Regions from separate parts of the Homo sapiens genome. Here region 1 is linked to region 2. Evidence: promoter capture Hi-C in human tissues and cell types (Jung and others, 2019). All regions are on one chromosome and are shown on one strand. Each heading gives the region's core, a stretch centred on a gene start or on the middle of the fragment in contact. The rest is flanking DNA. Distances are from core to core; before and after follow the strand shown.

Region 1 (3,334 bases), core at 304-2,803, 400 kb after region 2:
TTAGCCTGTATTTCCTTCATTTCTAATTTCTTTTTTTTTCCTGAGACGGAGTCTTGGTCTGTCGCCCAGGCTGGAGTGCAGTGGTGCGATCTCTCACTGCAAGCTCCGCCTCCCGGGTTCACGCCATTCTCCTGCCTCAGCCTCCTGAGTAGCTTGGACTACAGGCGCCCACCAGCACGCCTGGCTAATTTTTTGTATTTTTAGTAGAGATGGGGTTTCACAGTGTTAGCCAGGATGGTCTCGATCTCCTGACCTCGTGATCCGCCCGCCCTGGCCTCCCAAAGTGCTGGGATTGCAGGCGTGAGCCACCGCGCTCGGCCCTTTCATTTCTAATTCTTAATATTGTCTCCTAAACGTGCAGAGACAAGCACACGTTTTAAAGGCTAAGGAGGTTGTAGGTAGCAGAAGGCTTTAAAAAGTAGCACCTTACTCCTTCACTGGATGGTCTGAGCTGCAGGGACAGCTGCTCTTTGGCCTTCAGCTCACCTCAGAAACTAGAAATATTTATTTCAGGCTCTGTCCCATTGGCCACTGTGGTCAGGGGTGGAAAGCACCTGCCAGGTGTTGCCCTGAGATTGTCTGGGCTAACAAACTTTTCCACAAGCTTTGTGGTTGAACAGTAGCCCCCTCCTAACCCTATCGTTCCTTGGCGTCCAAACTACAGTAGGTGTCGAGTGCCCCCTGGGTGCGAAGCTCGGTATTAGGCAAATAAGGGTGGTTGCTCTCCAAGGCGCTTAGCTGTCCCCCCTTCCCACTTTTTTTTTTTTTGTTCGAGACTGCGTCTCGCTCTGTCGCCAGGATGGGGTGCAGTGGCGCGCTCATAGTGGCTCACTGCAGCCTCGATGTCCGGGGCTCTGGTGACCCTCCCACCTCAGCCTCCAGAGTAGCTGGGACCACAGAAGCGCGCCACCACTCTTAATTTTTTGTACTTTATTTGCAGAGATGGGGTTTCATATTGCCCAGACTGGTTTCGAATTCCTGGGCTCAAACGATCCGCCCGCCTCAGCCTCCCAAAGTGATAGAATTGCAGGGGTGACATGCCACTGCGCCCGACCAAGGCGCTTAGCTTTCTATTAAGTTTTCACAACCACTTTCCTACCACTATCTACTGTTCCTATTTTACAAATGACAAAACTAACCGACAAAAGAGCACTGGACCGTGGGACCAGAGCACGTCCCTGTGGGGTAACCTTGAGCTGGTCGCTTGCCCAGGGCGGCAGCGGATGTCTGAAGCGTCTTCCAATCCCAACATTAGACTTAATTCAAGGTCACCAGTGCTCAGCTGCGGCTGGAACTGGGTCTCGAAACTTGAAGGCCTTCTCTGCTACAGCCTTCGTTCCCGGGAGCAGAAAGAGGAAGTTTCTTAGCCGTGGGCACGCCGGCGCCTTCGCAGAGGCCCATGGCTTGAGGTCCGGCCCGAATGCGCAAGTTCCGACCTGAAATGAACTATGGAGTCCGGGAGGGGTCGCTTTGCTCCTCCGGAAGGCTTCCCCTTCAGCCAATCACCGTTCGAGGCCCGCCCCCGTCGCCGGAAGGAGCCGTCGCCCCGAGCAACTACAACGTCCGGCTTTCTGAGTTGGGTGGCGGGAAAGGCGATGAGTAAAGGCCGGGCAGAAGCTGCGGCGGGAGGTAACGGCGCCGTGGGCGCGGGGAAGACCCGGGAGGGCAGTGGGTGAGGAGGTCGGTTGAGTGGCCCCCTCCCCTGCCTTTCTCTCCGTAGCCGCCGGGATCCTCCTGAGGTACCTGCAGGAGCAGAACCGGCCCTACAGCTCCCAGGATGTGTTCGGGAACCTACAGCGGGAACACGGACTGGGCAAGGCGGTGAGGACCTTCTCCCGGGATTCCCTCTCCGTCGGACTCCCTGGATTCAGGCTGGGGTCGTGCCCTTTGGAGCCTTGGGCGTTTTCCACATCACTGGCTGGATTTCCCCAGACCCAGGCTCAGACTCCTCTGATTGCTCCTTCTCTCTCCTCTGCCAGGTGGTGGTGAAGACGCTGGAGCAGCTGGCGCAACAAGGCAAGATCAAAGAGAAGATGTACGGCAAGCAGAAGATCTATTTTGCGGATCAGGTGAGGAGAACTTGCGCCGATTGTCACCCATGAGAGCCCGACAACGGGTGAATCTACTCCTGGTGTGAACTCTTTGGGGACAAGGCCCCCCATGGAAAACTCACCTGTCTTAGGCCACCATCCTTAAATCAAGGTGTGTACTCCTCTTGTTAGGATCCCAACTTCACGAGGTTTCCAGATTTACAATATGATGGATGACAGAAGATTCTGTATTGTTGCTACCAAGATCCATTTCCGCTCCAAAGCTCTTATTCCTTATCATCTACATTAGCAACACCCTCTGCCAAATGATGTTCCTCCTGCCTCCATCCGATTCTCTAAACACACATATCAAATTTATATTCTCCAGCCCAGACCTCCAGCTGGAATCTGTCAGGCATTAATATCAGAGTCAAAATTGCCACAGTAGAATGCCTCATCTTCCCCCCACCCCGGACTGGTTTCTTTCTAACATTCTCCTCCCCTAATGGAATTACTCTTCACCCAAACCAGAAATTGGGAGCAATTCTTGACTTCCTTTACTAGTCAACCATCAAGTCCAGCTGATTTTTCCGTTTTTATTTATTTTTTTAATTTTTATAGAGATGGGTCTTACTGTGCTGCCCAGGTTGGTCCCAACTCCTGGGCTCAAGTGATCCTCCTGTCTTGGCCTCCCAAAGTGCTGGGAGGACAGGCGTGAACCACAGAGCCTGGCTAATTTTTCCATTCTTGAATCCACTCTCCTTTCCATCTGCCATGGTTGCTCTAGTTCACGCCCTCTTTATTTGTTGCAGTATCCTCCTAACAGATCTTGGCTCTTCAAACATATCTTAAACTCTTAAACATTGCAGTCAGAATGATCTGTCTAAATAGATCTGGTCATGCACCTTCCCTATTTAAAACTCTTCAATGGCTCTCTAGTGCTGCAAAAAACATGTAAAAGGCACCGGAAGACGCCCCAGCCAGCCTCTGGCCTCACCAATCCTCATTATTTTTCTATCCACGAACACTAGATAATTCTGGTGTGTTTTACTGCTCTGTCCTTTGCATGTTGTCTTCCCTGTACCTGCTTCTCTTCCTGGCCAGCTCTTTCTTTCCTTGAGGATTTCACTTAGACATCACCTTTTCCAGAAATCTTCCTTGAATGCTCCGAGCTAATTGTTTCTTTTTCAGGCCCTTATCTCTTTTTGTTATTGTTGTTGTTGTTGTTGTTGAGACGGAGTCTCGCTCTGTCACCCAGGCTGGAGTGCAGTGGCACAATCTCGGCTCACTATAAGCTCCACCTC
Region 2 (3,043 bases), core at 203-2,702:
AAGCAGGGACAGGGAGTTAACCTAAATTTCCACGGATTCCAACTCACTTTCCTTTCCTTTGCCAATTTTCCCAATCCCCAGAGTCGGGGTCCTCTAGCAGCCAAAGTGTTCAAGACTGAGATACGTGAGGGAAAGGTGAGTGGGCGCAGCACTGCTCTTGGCTGCTCTGCTGCCCTCTCAACGACTCACTTCGCTCACCGCTCCTCTACCACTCACGTCATCACGCACCGACATCTCTCCACATCCTCCGTGCACACCGCTCACCCTCAGGTTCCCAGGCCTCTGTCCTCTTGCCCTTCAGCCGGCCCCGCACTCCAGTCCCCTGGTCTCCGACACACGTACTCACCGACCGAGTCGGGGAGGCTTCTCCCCGCATGCACCATCATCCGGGTCTGGATCGCCACCCACACGACCCCACTATTCCCATATTCCTCGCGGCCCGGCTCCAGCCACTCACCTGGTCCTCGCCCCGCAACCATGGCCGGTCCCCTGGCAGCCCATCGCCCTCATCGCTGGCGGGGTCGCCGGGCCCTTCGTAACCTAGGACGTGAGGGCAGCCGCGGAAGGCGAAGTCTTCGAGCTCCCGCAGAAGGCGCTGCTGCTCCGCCGGCGCCCCGCGCACCACCTGGCGCAGGCGGAACTGCACCTGCGCGAAGTGCGAGGACAGCGCCAGCAGCGCCGAGTCCAGCCGCCGCCGCTCTGCCCGCAGCCGCCGCAGCGTCCGGCCCGGCGAATCCGGCGGGGAGCCCGGGGCCGCGCCAGGCTCCTCGGCCGTCGCCTCTTCTAAAAACGCGGTTGCCCCAGGCCGGGCCTCCGCCACCGCCCCCACTGGGGCCCAGCGCACCGCCTCGCACGGTGGCAGCGGCTCCTCTTCCTCCTCCTCTTCGTCTTTCGCCTTTGGCCCAACAGCCGCCACCACCGTTACCGGCTCTGCAGCCGCTTCGACAGCCGCCATCTTCCCGGAAACACCACCGCACGTCAGCCGCGCCCCCCTGCTGCCATGGCAACGGCGCGGTGGCCTGGAACCCCAGGGGAGTGGTGGGCGGGGCCTGAAGTACCCAAGTCCCCGAGGGCGCGCCTTCCCCGGGAATTTAATTCAGGACAATAATGTTTTATTGAGCGCCTATTGTGAATCAGACACTGAGCAGTAAGCGTCGGAGAAACAGGTGAATGATACCGGGGAAAAGTCATTCCCTGTGTGTAGCGTCTAGGGCAGCCTTTGCCCTGGTTCCAGCAGATGGGTTGTCTCTTCATAGTCTATGCATTTCTGAAGACCCCACGGTGAAGGGCTGCAAGGATGAAGCTGTCCCAGAGTATCTCCAGAGTGCAGATCCCTTGGCTGCCAGGTCATGTTCTCTCTTCCTCTCAACTGCTCTCCCGACCATATAAGGAGAGGCAGCTGCTGGGGGCGTCCCCAGGATCTAAAGATAGCGGCCCCTGCCTGGAACTCTAAATGCCACCCTGGAGCGGGAGCCGCAATGGCACGGTGAGTGTTTCCGGCTCCGGTGCTCCCCCTGGCCCTTTTCCCTGGAGATTCCCTGCTCCAAGTCTTCTGGGCGCTCCAGGTTCTGTGAGGCCCCACGGGAGCCCCGGACCCCTGGTCTCTGTAACTGTGGGGTGAGGGAAGGTGTGACCTGAATGTTCTCCCTGACCTCCTAGTTTCCTAGTCTTGCACGTTCTATTCTTCCCAGGTTCACATTCACCACACCCACCCACTCCTGTCATTCCCTTCCCTTTCACCCCTTCTGTCTCATTTAGCTCCACTTTGAAAAAACTGTGGCATCAAAGGTCCCTGGGTAGTCCCTTCCCAAATGACCTCAGTCTTCCCTCTCCCACCCCTATGAAGCCACACCTCAACTTCTCTTCAGGCAGCACGCCCGGACCTTGTGGTACGACAGGCCCAGGTATGTGTTCATGGAGTTTTGTGTTGAGGACAGCACCGATGTCCACGTGCTTATTGAGGATCACCGCATTGTGTTCAGGTAGTGGCCCTGCCGTCCGAGGGCCTGGCTTCCCAGGAATCTACCCCTTTCCTAATGTCCCCACACGGAGTATTCCGCATCTCCTCAGCTTCATTGTCTCCTCAGCTGCAAGAATGCCGATGGAGTGGAGTTGTACAATGAGATTGAGTTCTATGCCAAAGTGAACTCCAAGGTAAGGGTGAAATGGGACAGTAAGGTTTGGATGGAAACCGGGCTGCCCAGGGAAACTGGAGATTAATTCTAAACCCCAGACCCTAAGAATGAGGCTCTCTATCTGGCAGGACTCCCAGGATAAGCGCTCTTCCCGCTCTATTACTTGTTTTGTGAGAAAATGGAAGGAAAAGGTGGCCTGGCCGCGGCTTACCAAGGAGGATATCAAGGTGGGTGTGTGGAAAGTGGCCTGCTTCTTCTCTCCATGTACCCAGGTTACAGCTGGGATTGTCCTTGCCTCCTTTCCAGCCAATATTCAATCACTCAACAAGTCCTGCCTAATCTTTTTTTTCCAACTGTATTAGTCTCTCTTTTTATTTTTATTTATTTATTTATTTTGAGACGGAGTTTCACTCTTGTTGCCCAGGCTGGAGTGCAGTGGCGTGATCTCAGCTCACCATGGCCTCCGCCTCCCGGGTTCAAGCAATTCTCCTGCCTCAGCCTCCTGGGTAGCTGGGATTACAGGCATGCACCACCACGCCCAGCTAATTTTGTATTTTTAGTAGAGATGGGGTTTCTCCTTGTTGCTCAGGCTGGTCTCGAACTCCCGACTTCAGGTGATCTGCCCGCCTCGGCCTCCCAAAGTGCTGGGATTACAGGCGTGAGCCACCGCGCCTGGCTTATTTTTTAACTTAAAGTTCTGGGATACATGTGCAGAACATGCAGGTTTGTTACATAGGTATACGTGTGCCATGGTGGTTTGCTGCATCTATCAACCCGTCATGCAGGTTTTAAGTCCTGCATACATTAGCTATTTGTCCTGAGTCTCTTTTTACTCTCTTGGTAATCTCTCCCAGTTAACTTACTTTCGTTGTAGGTGATGAAATGTGTAAGACTCCACTTCAGATATT

The links. The method cuts DNA at HindIII sites, captures the fragments that hold promoters and counts their contacts. A contact is called where the count stands out against the background at its distance.
Region 1: a contact is called between the fragment with the promoter of PSMC3IP here and the fragment with the promoter of PTGES3L in region 2, in 1 of the 25 tissues and cell types used here (heart left ventricle).

What each region holds. Positions count from the first base shown.
Region 1 is chr17:42,575,948-42,579,281 of GRCh38, reverse strand. PSMC3IP (PSMC3 interacting protein) reads left to right here and starts at 1,553. Exons shown (of 8, transcript NM_016556.4): 1 at 1,553-1,629; 2 at 1,721-1,821; 3 at 1,980-2,069. The coding sequence starts at 1,596. RefSeq lists an enhancer at 1,202-1,291 and a silencer at 1,592-1,641. The HindIII fragment of the contact is 7,362 bases long and covers 1-3,334 here.
Region 2 is chr17:42,978,489-42,981,531 of GRCh38, reverse strand. PTGES3L (prostaglandin E synthase 3 like) reads left to right here and starts at 1,452. Exons shown (of 7, transcript NM_001261430.2): 1 at 1,452-1,486; 2 at 1,869-1,982; 3 at 2,088-2,154; 4 at 2,264-2,362. The coding sequence starts at 1,479. PTGES3L-AARSD1 (PTGES3L-AARSD1 readthrough) reads left to right here and starts at 1,004. Exons shown (of 17, transcript NM_001136042.2): 1 at 1,004-1,486; 2 at 1,869-1,982; 3 at 2,088-2,154; 4 at 2,264-2,362. The coding sequence starts at 1,350. It overlaps RUNDC1 (RUN domain containing 1), which reads right to left and starts at 967. Exons shown (of 5, transcript NM_173079.5): 1 at 458-967. The coding sequence starts at 955. RefSeq lists a silencer at 651-900 and an enhancer at 971-1,040. The HindIII fragment of the contact is 11,093 bases long and covers 1-2,421 here.